2 separate regions of the Homo sapiens genome follow, and region 2 is linked to region 1. Evidence: promoter capture Hi-C in 16 types of primary human blood cells and fetal thymus (Javierre and others, 2016). All regions are on one chromosome and are shown on one strand. Each heading gives the region's core, a stretch centred on a gene start or on the middle of the fragment in contact. The rest is flanking DNA. Distances are from core to core; before and after follow the strand shown.

What was found. The method cuts DNA at HindIII sites, captures the fragments that hold promoters and counts their contacts. A CHiCAGO score of 5 or more calls a contact.
Region 2: a contact is called between a fragment that was not itself captured here and the fragment with the promoter of PRDM5 in region 1, in 1 of 17 cell types (activated CD4 T cells). The highest score is 7.1, in activated CD4 T cells.

The regions. Positions count from the first base shown.
Region 1 is chr4:120,919,116-120,926,043 of GRCh38, forward strand. PRDM5 (PR/SET domain 5) reads right to left here and starts at 3,611. Exons shown (of 16, transcript NM_018699.4): 1 at 3,401-3,611. The coding sequence starts at 3,493. It overlaps LOC105377399 (a long non-coding RNA gene), which reads left to right and starts at 3,821. Exons shown (of 2, transcript XR_001741804.2): 1 at 3,821-4,212. The HindIII fragment of the contact is 4,297 bases long and covers 1,505-5,801 here.
Region 2 is chr4:121,308,548-121,314,949 of GRCh38, forward strand. No RefSeq gene overlaps it. Among named protein-coding and RNA genes, the nearest start is that of QRFPR, 69 kb to the right of the region's middle. The HindIII fragment of the contact is 1,334 bases long and covers 4,156-5,489 here.

The sequences.
Region 1 (6,928 bases), core at 2,361-4,860:
TTTCCTCTGAAAAGTCTTCCCTGCTGACCCTCCTAAAGTAGACCCACCCCTCATTTACTCTTTAATGCCTCATCCTGTTTATTTCCTGCAATTAATTTAACACTTGCCTCAATCATTTTGGTAATCTTCCATTTTATACTTGTTTGCTGCCTATCTCCCCACATAAGAAAGCAAGCTCCTTGCAGAAAAAGACCTTGTCTGTCTTGCTCACCTGTGTATTCCCAGGGCCTAGTACAGTACCTGCCACATATGAATGATTAAATGACTGAAAGTCAGAGAAGAAAAACCTACAGCCTAAAATATCCAAAGGGAAAGAAAGCTGAGAGCAGTGTATTTCCACCTTAATCTTTCCCTTAAAATCACATAATCTGAGAGCTTGAAATAACCTTTCCACTTTGCAGTTTCAGGTACAATATCAAAAAACACCACCCACTGGTGGTTAATCATATAAGCAAGCTAGGAAAAAAATGGTCATGAAACAAAAAATGTAATGTAGTAAGGTGTCTGCTTAACTTTAAATTTTTATTGGATGTATACTTAATTTATGAGTTTTGAGTAACTAATATTAATTTTAATCTGCATAATACTTTGCAACCTAAAATGCCACATTTTCACTGAAGCATTCAACTGTGCTCCCGAGAAAACACAGCAAGCATTAGACAGGGTCTGGCACACAGCATGCAAAAAGTGTCAATTTCATTATTTTTCCTTATTCTGATTATTAGCAAATCACAATGTGTAAAAGTATGAATGAACTCAGGTCTCCTTTTTCTTCTCAAAAGCTTTCTAACTGACTCTTTTCGTTTTCTTGAGTTGTCACTATACAGATTTTTATACTGGAAAAAAAATCAGAGGCAACAGACCAGCAAAAAAGGATAATTGCCAAGGAAAAATCTAGTAGGACTAAGGTAAAGCCAGGGAATTAGGTGATTCTGCTGCAAAGACACCACCACTCTAGGAAGCACTGCACGAAAAGGGGTAGGACTAGAGGATTAAGAGGTACCACCAGCAAGAAAATCCCATCTCAACCTGGTGAATGTAATGAGGGTGGGGTTTCTAGCAAGATTCCCCAACCTCAGTCTGGATTAGATTCTCTGAATTTGAAATCAACAGATGGCTTGAATTGCAAGCACTTTTTAAAACAGGAGTGTTATACAAGCATATGTGTTATAAAAGTGTGGCAAAACATCTGTAATTTCCAACACATGTATTAAAAGTGGTATCTTCCAAAATTTGTTTAGAATAGAGAGCATAAAAACTTTTAAGTAAGGTTCTTAATGTAGCTGCTGATAAATCTCTCTTCTCAGATCCCTTGATTTATGTCCAGAATTAGGCCTAGTACAAGGTTACTTGGAAAATACCTAAGAATTGAGGGACTGTTTGCCTTCCATAAGCAGGTAAGGGATGCCTTGATACTCAGCTGCAGCCTCACAATTCAGCTAAAGTCTGCTGTTTGGCTTTAGCTTTGTCTTCGTCCTCAGATTTTGGAAGGAAAAGGAACTGAAGCTTGCTTTAAGGTCATTTCTGAGATCAACAAACCTGTCCATGACCTTGTGACTGAATATTTTGGGATCATAACTAAACATCGATAATAGTTTGGATTCATAGCAAACATCTGCACATTCACTTTGAAATACAGCGAAGCATTCTAAATATGATCTGGATGAAAATCTGTATGTGTTTTATTTATTAAAGTTAAACTGGCCAGGAAAAGATAAGCATTTATCATTGCAATAGTAAAGTGATGCAATAATATATGATGATTTTGGAAGCTGTTCATTTCATTGCATGCCCAAAAATAAAATACTTACAAAGAATCAAACACATGAAAAAAATAAACTGAAATTAATAAAAATCTCAAAAGAAAGTAGGTTGGCCAGCTGTTTCTAAAAATCTATATGGTAATATAAGGAAACAACAAGGATTATATAATAATTCTAATCTTTGCAGAGTTGTTTACAGTACTCTTCATAACATTAAATAAAATGATTTTTAAGATCTGTGTTTAATTTTTAAAGTAATTAAATTTAAGCCAGAAACCTTTAAGGAAGGTCTGTTTGAGAATTTTTCACATCTTTTAAGAATGAATTAAAAGGAGAATTTCAACTCTGTACAGACGTCATTTGGTGATGGTTGTATTTGGCCTTCAAAAAATGTTGATTTTAACATTTGGCCATTTGGCAACTATTCAATACACCTCTAATTCAGATAAATTATTTATTCCTGTTTTTAACATTTGAACATTCTCGCCAACTCCCACTTGAAAAAATAAATAAGTGGTTTATTTTCTCCAATTTTGCCCTGAAGGATGACTGGAGATCATGTTGTCAGTGGAGCCCTTTTTGGGGATTACTAGCACTTTCTACTACTCTTCACCAGCTCTTTAGGTCAGAGGCAAAGGGGAGAGGGTTATATGCAGATGAAAGGCACCCTAGTGTCTCTACTGCATCCTCTGAACCTCTTGTTAACATACCTTACCTGAACAAGCCTGTTCTTGCCCAAACCTCCATCTTACAAAATATCTACTAAGAAAAGGGGGCGAGGACGGCTAGGACGACTCTAACAAGTTATAATATTATAAGATCAAATCCAAAGAGCTGGACTTTTCCTGTGGCCTCTCTTCCTAGGCCTTTGCTTTCAACATCCAACACTTTCAGGCCCTTCCTGTACGAACTGAGCAATGTGCTTCCTCTCATCACATGCCTGTAACTTTCTGGCTGGAGAGATCGAACCGATGTTGGAGACAAATTAAAAAAAAAAAGAGCGGAGAAAAAAGGTATAGACACTCAAAGATCATCTGGTTGGCACCTCCCTGAAGGCACATATAATACATTCCAGAAGGAGGGAAGGAAATCCTGGGCGTATGAATGAGATTCTACGGCCTGCGTGGAGCGGCGCTCTGGGCTGCTCCTCCCATCCCCGCATGGAAAGTTAGGCGTTTCTAGCCACATTAATTCATCCTAAAGGAAAAGAGGCGACAGCGGAGCAGCGTGCGCGCGGGGGAAAACACCCGCCCACGCGTGCCTTCGCCAACGCAAAGACGCAGCTCACACCCGTAACCGAGGAAGAGGGAGGCTCCCGCCGCGCTCACTTCCTGCGGGAGAGAGGAAAGACATCTTGCGGCAGGGAGGCCGGTGGCAGTTCCGCCCCTGGACCGGCCGGCAGCGGAGCGCACCCCGCCGCCACCTACGTGGCGCTGCCTGCTCGGGTGGCGCAGCGAGTAAAGGCCACCCCCGCCGTGCCCCGCGGTCCCCGGCCTTCCCACGGACGCCTGGCCCGGCCCGGGCGAGGGGCGACCGGGGTGAAGCCCGCCGCGCCCCGGGCCCTGCGGCAGGGCGACTCCGGGAGGCACAGGGCGCGCGAGGTGCAGGGGCGCGCAGGCCGCCGCCGGGTCACCCACCTTTCGCACTCTGCGGGCCGTGTAGAGCCCCATGCCGTCCTGAACCCGGGAGGACTTCAGGGAGAACCTGTCCGGCACGTACATGCCCAGCATTTTCCCGGGCGCGGCGGCCGCCGCCTCTCTCAACACCGGCGCTTAGCGCCCGGCAGGCGGCACATCGAAATTTGGGGTGCCAGGGTAGAGGGGAGAAACCGGCAGGGAAGGAGGAAATGGAGTTTTCCTCCCAGAATCCCCACCTCCCTGCCGATTCCAGGATCCCCCGCGGCTCAGCCCCTCCTCGTCCCGGGTCGGGCTCGGCCCGGATCCGTTCCTGCCATTCCTGCTGCGGGGGCGCGGGGGGCGCGGGCCTGGGCGCTGCGGGCGCCGGGACGCCGCTCGCTGATTGGCCCGAAGTTGGCGGCTCTGACCCGCGCCCGGGCGCGAAGCCCGGAGCAGGGCTGACCCCAGGGCCTCAAACCCGGAGGCCCGCGAGCTGCGCGGGCCGTCAGCACCCCTAGCCCCGGCGCGGCGGCGTGCGTTCCCGCCTTTGTCCAGCTCTGGGTTTTCAAACCTTGCCCCGCTGAACCATTACTCCCTGTAGGGGAGTCTCGCTTGCTTCTCTTCAGATGCAAAACGAAATGGACCTTCACACAGCTGGGGCATCCTCCAAAACAACTTTATCAAGTTCCTGACTCTGAAAGCCAGCTTATTGCCGACTACTGAGAACGAACCCTGCGGTCTAGGAAATTTCCGTGCTTCTCACATTTGAGTTATGCGTCTTTGCTTTTTTTCACGTTTGTTGCAGAGGCTAGAACTTAATAAGGGATCGCAAAGTATGTTGATTAACGTACGGAAAAATATGTTGCAAACAATTTAATGTTTTAAGCACTAGAAACTAGATATTTTATGGTAACATAACCTCTGGGAAGTTCTTATACTTCTCAAGGTACAATATTCCTGAGACCTCCCTTGCTTGATAATCATTAGACGTATTACGGATTTTCAGACATACGGAAGTGGATTTGTGGGAGACAGGAGGGGACACCCAAACAATAGCATCTGGTGTCACAACAATGCAATAAAGTCACAAGTCTTGTTTTAGTGTTTTTAATAAGCTGTTAGGCTGTGCAGTGTGCCCAGGACCTTTAAAAGCCTGTTTCATCCTTCAAAGTGATCCTGGGGTCATCTACTCATTTCTCTTGATATTTATGGTAATTTTCTACTCTAGGGTCTTTTCTCGGAAACCATTTGATGTTCTTAATTGATGTTCTCATAAACCATTAAAAGCACACACAAAAGTTTGACAAAATTACAGACTACACACACACACCATGGAAACGATTCCTGTTTCTGCAGGAAACCCTTGGAACATAGTTCCTAAGCAGATTTTTTTTTTTTTTTTTTTTTGACAGGGTCTAGCTATGTCTCCCAGGTTGATCTTGAACTCCTGGGCTTAAGGGATCCTCCGGCGGCGTTGGCCTCCTGAAGTGCTGGGATTACACACTTGAGCTACCACACCCGGCCCCTATGTAGATTTTGATTCAAGTTTGGAAAAAGGTTTAAAAAACAAGAACAAAAGGCATTATGGGAAAAAAAAATCATGTAGTGGCAATATTCGGAGACTTTAAGGAACACAGTAAATGATGACATGATCCTCTTTCTAAGAAATGTAAGTTTAGCTTTCACAGCAGGGAGAGGAACACTTAGCCACTCTGTGAGTTTTGATACCTTTGACTTCCCATGGAAGATCTCTAACTTCTCTAGGGGAAAATAAATCAATAAAAACAAAAACTCTCTTTTGGGGGAATTGGGAGTTCCATGGCCTTGAAAAATAGTAGGTGTTCATTAAATATGTCTTGAATGAAAGTCACTTCTGAGGCTGATCTGAGATGTTCAAAAATTCTATGGTGAGCCTAGAATTTACTTGACTTTTTGTTGTGCTTCACAAGGAACTGGACTAAGTAGGTTTTCCAGGGTTCCTTAGAACCAGGGCTGAAACCATGCCAGACCAGATCCACTGGGCCCACAGTCCAGAAGGTGGGGCCCTGGCATTTTCCTGGAGCATTCAGCTCTTTGTCAAACACAGGCTTCCAGCCACCCTTAAGCCATCCAGGGCTCTCAGTCAAATGCTCTGCCACTGTCTCTTTGGGCACGAGAATTTCCACAGCTTTTGATCGCTGGAGAGGAAAACGTTTTTTGGTTTTAGTCTGAAACAATCCTTATTTAGGGATCCTTATTTAGGCATATCTCTCAAATATTTGGTTGCATGCTGTCTTTCTGGGGAGCAAGGCTGCAGCCTTGAGAATGCCCCTCTCTGAATGTAGGCTTCTTTACTAATTAGAAAATGGTGAAAGTATATAAATAAAATTTTAAAGATAAATCTGAAATCAATAAGATGAGAAACTTTCCAGATATTTTATGAAGCTTGGTCAGATATTTTTGTTACAATTGACACATTCAGTGTATTTCATTAAAGCATGCAATGTTCTTTTTTATCTATTTAATGGAGTGTTCTGAAGATCTACTAACTAAAACATAGGAACTAGCAATAAAAAGTTCTTAATAATAAGTTCCATTACAACACACAAAAAGGATACATGTTTGCCAAATCAAAATGCACAGTATTGACCGGATATTTGATTTTGAAGCCTGTAAGACAGTGATAGTACAATGAGTCATTTCTTAAAACTTTAAAAGCTAGAAAGCGACCTTTCAATATTATCTTTGAAAAACGGGAAATTAAAAGTCTGCTTTATATCAGGAGTTTAAATCCAGTCTTTAAAAAATAAATAACAAAATCAAAAAAATTGATATTAAAGTACTACCATGCACCTGATTTACTTATTCTAGAAAATATTGCACTGTCTTGACAAACAAGAAATTATTCAAAATACATTGTTCCTTACTTTCAGATTTGCTTTTGGAGGAATCTTTTTCATTGATATGTCTAAAGCAAGCTCTAGTTATTGCATTTAAACGTATGTACTTGAGTGGGCCTTGTTTTTAGGGAAGACTTGAATTATGACTGTATATTAATTAATTATTTTACCATACTGTCAGTATTTATACATACTGTCGAACTCTTTTAATTGTGCCTTGGTTATTGATGACTGATTCCAAGCACCATGGTAGACTAAAAGCCTGATTGATAGAAAAAAAATAATAATAACCTGAAACATATTTGTCTTCAGTTATCAGAGAACCAGAGGGCTTTTGTAATAATTGAATATAAAACCAAGTTTCCAGAGCAGAAAAGAATAAAGATTTAGTTGGTGTGATTAAAAAAAAAAAGTTTGTTAAAATAAAATGGAGAGTAACGGTGTCAGATTCTTGCTCTTAAAACATCTATCCTCAGCATTGATTCTACAATAGCAACAGCACCATGAAAAGATGTCCCTGAAACCTAAAAAAGTGTGAACACTAAATTTTTCTTAATGTCTTGAGTTTTGGAAAGGTACCATACACTTGTATGTGGTACCAAAAAAGAATCATAAATTTTAACTAGAAGAAAACTGAAGGTTGTTGTGACTAAATTGAGTAACATTATGC
Region 2 (6,402 bases), core at 3,573-6,072, 390 kb after region 1:
AAATAGATTACTAATGGAATTGAGGCATGAGTCAAGGGGGCCTCTGCTACAGCTGCCACAGAAAACCAAATGCCTCCTTGGGCCCACTTTCCTTCAGAGGCAGCACAAGCAGCAGAAGATGGGCCTCCTCCTCTGTAAGTTTCATTTATGTTCTTAAAAGATTAAAAAAGTGACAGCTAACCTGTATTAGAACATAGGTGTGATGAGTGTGCCTCCTAGATCTCAAGCCAGTGCTAGGTCCTTGTGGTGGACCAGATCTCTTAAGGCATCTGGGAAATGTTGTCTTTAGCTTCCAGTCTGGCTGTCTTAGTGGTAGAGAGCCAGACTTCAGTACTGGCCTCACATGCTTTCAGCCTAAAAGTTCTTTCTGTAATTCACTAAACTCTCCTTTCATTTCAGAGGCAGTTGGTTTAGCAAGCGTAGCTGGTAGTGTACAGCAAGGGTCCCCAACCCCCGGGCTGGGGACCAGTACCTGTCTGTGGCCTGTTAGGAACCGAGCTGCACAGCAGGAGGTAAGCAGTGGGCAAGCGAGCATTATCGCCTGAGCTCTACCTCCTGCCAGATCTGCTGTCTGCTGCAGCATTAGATTCTCATAGGAGCACGAACTCTATTGTGAACTGTGCATGCTAGGGACCTAGGATGCGTGCTTCTTATGAGAATCCAACTAATACCTGATGATTTGAGATGGAACAGTGTCATCCCAAAACCATCCTCCACACCCTACCACCACCTGATCATCAATGGAAAAATTGTCTTCCGAGAAACCAGTCCCTGGTGCCAAAAATGTTGGGAACCACTGGCATACAGGGTTTTCCAAACTTCAGTCATTCTTATATCACAGTCAAGGCTAATATTTATAAGATGTTCAACTGCCACTGCTGATCATCCAGGGGCATGGGAAGAGGGCAGGCCTTAGAGACAGGTCTGACTTTAGATGCTGCACCTCTATTATCCTCACTAAGTTTCAGCCTCCACCTCTGCAAATTAAGAATAAAATTGCCTCTCCAGTCAGCCGGTGACTCTGAAAATAATAAAATGGTAGGTATTTTCTCATTTTTCAAAGGTTCTAATATAGTCATTGGCTGCTCTGGAAGTTCAAAGATGATCAACTTTTGAGGCATTTAAATATATGCTATTTGATAATTATTTTCAATGGTATATAATGTGTGAAAATATGGGATGTAGTTTATATAATAAAGCCAACATTGGCATCAGTATAAAAAAATGCTAAAACTCCTTTCATTCTTTCAGTTCTATGCTTATAATTTGTACACTTTTCTCTATGTATGTTATACTCCCATAAAAAGTTTGCAGTAAAAAATGCAAACTGCAAAGAGATTTTATTAAGATAAACCTGGGACACAATGAGGTGGATTAAGATAGAGACAAATATATTCCAGAAAAGAATGGGCAATGAATGTAGAGTAGGTATTCAGGTAGAATGAAGAGAACAAGTAAAAGATTTATATAGTTGTGTTCTGGGAGTCTCAGCACAGAGTATTTTTTTTAAACCCAAGAGCTTTTTATTTTACGCCATAATACAAATGGATTTAAGTCAAAACAGAAAAATGTGCAATTGTTGGAAATTACCCTTCAGTAAGGTTTCTCAGTTGGCTATTTAACCTAGTGATTTGTGTAAAGATTATAGTTTTTTTCCCCTTCGTCGTATAGTGTATTTCTTTTCTTTTTGTCTTCAAGTAAGTATTTATTTTTATAATATAATATCATCATAGTTACAGACATTTTAAATGTAGGTGTTCTTTCAAATGCTTGGAAAACATAAGTACTTTTTATCTCAGAAATATGTAGTGATAGTGTAGAGAGGGGGTTGAACTGATTTTTAAGTCGAAGATCAAAACATGCAAATACTAGCAGTCATATCACATGAGTTGTATGAAGAAGAAAATAATAGAAAGTCTCTAAAACCATAAAAGCTGAAAGAAATAAGAAACATATTTTAAATGTCTCAGAGTCAGATGTTTTCATCTAATATAAAGACACATGCACACGTATGTTTATTGCGGCACTATTCACAATAGCAAAGACTTGGAACCAACCCAAATGTCCAACAATGATAGACTGGATTAAGAAAATGTGGCACATATACACCATGGAATACTATGCAGCCATAAAAAATGATGAGTTCATATCCTTTGTAGGGACATGGATGAAATTGGAAACCATCATTCTCAGTAAACTATCGCAAGAACAAAAAACCAAACACCGCATATTCTCACTCATAGGTGGGAATTGAACAATGAGATCACATGGACACAGGAAGGGGAATATCACACTCTGGGGACTGTGGTGGGGTCGGGGGAGGGGGGAGGGATAGCATTGGGAGATATACCTAATGCTAGATGACACATTAGTGGGTGCAGCACACCAGCATGGCACATGTATACATATGTAACTAACCTGCACAATGTGCACATGTACCCTAAAACTTAGAGTATAATAAAAAAAAAATCATTTATTAAAACAAAGTTTTTATATTTTTATAATAGTGTTTCACTTGATAAATATTTTTGAATAAATGAATGAGGAAATTAAAGAACAAAAAAAAAAAAAAAAAGAAAATTACTCTCAAAGTTCGTTTACATTTCTAAGTGGCTCAAGTCATAGTGACTAAAATAAATTCTAATTTTAAAATTAGTAAATCTGAGTGTGCCCCAGCAGTATTGTCTTGAAATGAATAAAACTAGGGCAGGTAAAAACCTGGATTCTGCCGGTAAAGACAGTCATGGAGGCCGGGCACATGCTCATGCCTGTAATCTCAGCACTTTGGGAGACCTAGGCGGGCGGATCACTTGAGGTCAGAAGTTCAAGACCAGCCTGACCAACATGGTGAAACCCCATCTCTACTGAAAATGCAAAAATTAGCTGAGTGTGGTGGCGGGTGCCTGCAATCCCAGCTACTTGGGAGACTGAGGCAGGAGAATCGCTTGAAATCGGAGGTGGAGGTTGCAGTGAGCTGAGATTGCCCTACTGCACTCCGGCCCAGGCAGCAGACTGAGATTCATCTAAAAAAAAAAAAAAAAAAAAAAAAAAAAAGACAGTCATGGAAAGCATTTGGCTTTTCCATGACAGCTGTAGCAGAGGTCCCAGGGATGGCTTCCTCATTCTCTAGTGTTGAACAGTGGAACATGGGATATCCATTCTCCTGGCATGGATCATGGCAGAAGTGATCTGGTCCTGGAGCCAGCAGTGGGGATTGGCTCTCAATTTCCTACCCATCAATGTTTGATACTAACTAGCTGGAATAATGTTTTTAAAAGTCTGTTTTGCTTGAAAACACTGGGCAAGGGTATATGTGTCCTGTTGGAGCAAACTGAATCCTAACTAATGCAGGATGATAGAGGAAAAAGTGTTTGAGGAAGAATTGTATCCCATTTTCAGAGCTTGAATATAAAATCAACAATCATGTGCTTTGAATGTCTGAGTAGACTCTTGCCTATTGCTGAGAAACTGAAGAAAATATTACTGCATTTAGTTTTATATGTCTATATAGTAGAATGGCCATTACTCTGAATTTGCAGAGATAAATAAATAAACAAAGCATAATGAGGGAATACTATAAACAATTGTATATAGCATACAACAAATCAGATGACTTAGATGGAATTAACAAATTCCTAGAAAGACACAAACTACTGAAACTAGCTCAAGAAGAAATAAAAATTCTGAATAGATATATAATTATTGAATAAACTGAATTAGTAATCAAAAAAGTTCCACAAAAAAAAAGCTCAGGCCCAGATGGCATCATGGGTGAATACTACTAAATAATGCAATTTATGAGGCCAGTATTACTCTCGCATCAAAACCAGACAAAAATATCACAAAAAAGGAAACTACAGACCAATATTCCTTATGAATACAGATGCAAACATCTTCAACACAATACTAGAAAACTGAATCCAGCAGCATACAAGGATTGTATAACAAGACCAAGTGGGATTTATCCCAGGAATGCAAAATTTGTACAACACATGAAACTTAACCAATGTAATACATATTAATTAAATAAAGGACAAAAAACACACGAACATCTCAATAGATATTATAGAAATATAAGGGAATGTATCCAATTTGATAAAAGACATTTATGAAAAACCCACAGCAAATATGACACTTAGTGATAAAAGACTGAAAAGCTTTCCTCCAAGGTCAAAAACAAGACAAGTTGTTCATTTTTACCACTTCTATTCAACATTGTGCTAGAGGTCTAGCCAGGGCAATTAGGCAAGAAAAATAAGTAAAAGCCGTCCAGATTGGAAAGGAAGAAGTAAAACTATCCACAGATGGCATGATATTATATATAGGAAGTTCTAAAGAATTCTTAAAAATCTACAAAAATGTAGCCCAACTTTCAATTCTTTTAGTCAAAAGAAAGTTTGTAATTTGTGTCTTTTATCTTTATATAATTGTGTGTCTAACTTGTCTTTTAAAAAATTTTTGATGTTCCTGGGAAAATCTAGTTCTAATTAAGAAGACATTTAATTAAACCTATACAAGGTATAAATTTTCATAACAGCAAGATATAAATAAATAGATATTGGCAGTAGGAGTAATGAGTGATTCCATGTTTAAAAACTTCCCACCAGCCTAGCACGATAGGCACTTGATGGTTAGATTTACTTTTATTAATTTTTAAATTAAATTAAAGTCAAATAAAGTAATATAGTATGCTTTACTTTTTTAAGTTTTAGGTTTTAAACATTTAACCACCACCATCTTATTGAGCCTTTATATTATAACCTCATTCTATACAGAAAAAATATAAGATTCAAATAGATGAAGTGACTTGCCCTAGCCAATTCAGCAAACAAGCGGCAGAGGTGGGAACATGAACTGAGGACATGACCTTAGCCAGTGTTATATCCACTACTCCATGAATGACTAACCAAACAGGGAACGGGAGGGGCACAGGGAAAGTATTCCAGGCCATTGTGAACATCCCTCCACCCAGATTAGCAAGTTCTACCTTCTTGGAATAAGTGCCCAAGTAATTATCATCCCTGGATAAAGCCTTGGTGATAACCAGTTAATTAATCAGGGCTTCTTCATTGTTCAGTGCTTCCCACACTCCATGTTGGACAATAGTGTTCATACCAGATTAGCAAGTTCCGCCTTCTTGAAATAAGTGCCCAAATAATTATCATCCCTGGATAAAGCCTTGGTGATAACCAGTTAATTAATCAGGGCTTCTTCATTGTTCAGTGCTTCCCACACTCCATGTTGGACAATAGTGTTCATACTCTAACCCAGACCTTTTGTTAATCTTCTATTCCATTTTCCCACTCTCACTATTACAAATGTTTCATTAATGGAGGCCTTCCATCCGAATTTGCAAGAATTTCATGATAAAGAGATATAAAATGTTAGACAAGTTGAGAACTTATTATAAAGCTCTCAAAAGCAATGATTCAAGATCACAGTTTATATATATGTACAATCTTGTTTTCCTACACAACGTTCTTTAACAAAGCTTTAGTAAGTATTGCGTGGACTTTAGAGCTGCTGTATTTCCACTGAGCTATATGACTCACATTATTTATAAATACAGAATAAGGATAGACTCAGTGACCCTTGTGGAAAAAATTAGGATACATGTCAATTTAAGTCAACAAATGTTGTACCACTATGTTGTACAAAGCACTGTGCTTTTTTGTATCTCTGTCTCACACAGGTGTATATGAATAAACTTATACTCTTTTCCTTCAAAGATTAGTTGTCAAGATTAGACATAAATGCAACTAACTCAATATTGAGCATAAAATAATTAAATAGCATTTTCCTAAGCCATTTGGTAAAGAAAATATTTAATGCTTTTACCAATATAGTCAGTTGGCTTTTTGGGATCTCTTGGGAATTTCAGTGCTCCTGTAGTGAACCTTGATCTAGGACCAGCTTGCTTTTTCTCCCTCCTGTGCCTCCCTTTGTCAGCAGAAGCCTTACTGTTGTCACCAGTTGACAGTATTCATAAGATGGCTGCATCAGTACTTACCTAGAGTCCAGAAGGAAGGTGAAAACTTTTGTATCCCAAAGGTGGCAAAAACATCCTGAGACTAATTTTCATTGGTCAGAATTGGGCCATGTATTTAACCTTAGACTAATCACTATGGCTTACACTAATCATGGAAGATTCCTGGAGCTGGGAGCAGGGACACTTCTAGTCAAACACTATGGTCTAAGTTGGGGAAGGGGTGATATTCAGAAGGAAATTTTTTACCGTAAAAAGGATAGACATTATCAGTATGTAACAAAATAACAAACCACAATTGCCCACTACAGACCTTTAATGCCTTTTAATTATTGCTGAAAGGCATTAAAGGTCTGATATCTACAGAAAAGCTTGCAGAAATAGTGCAGTCAGATAAGAGAAATGAACTGTAGCAT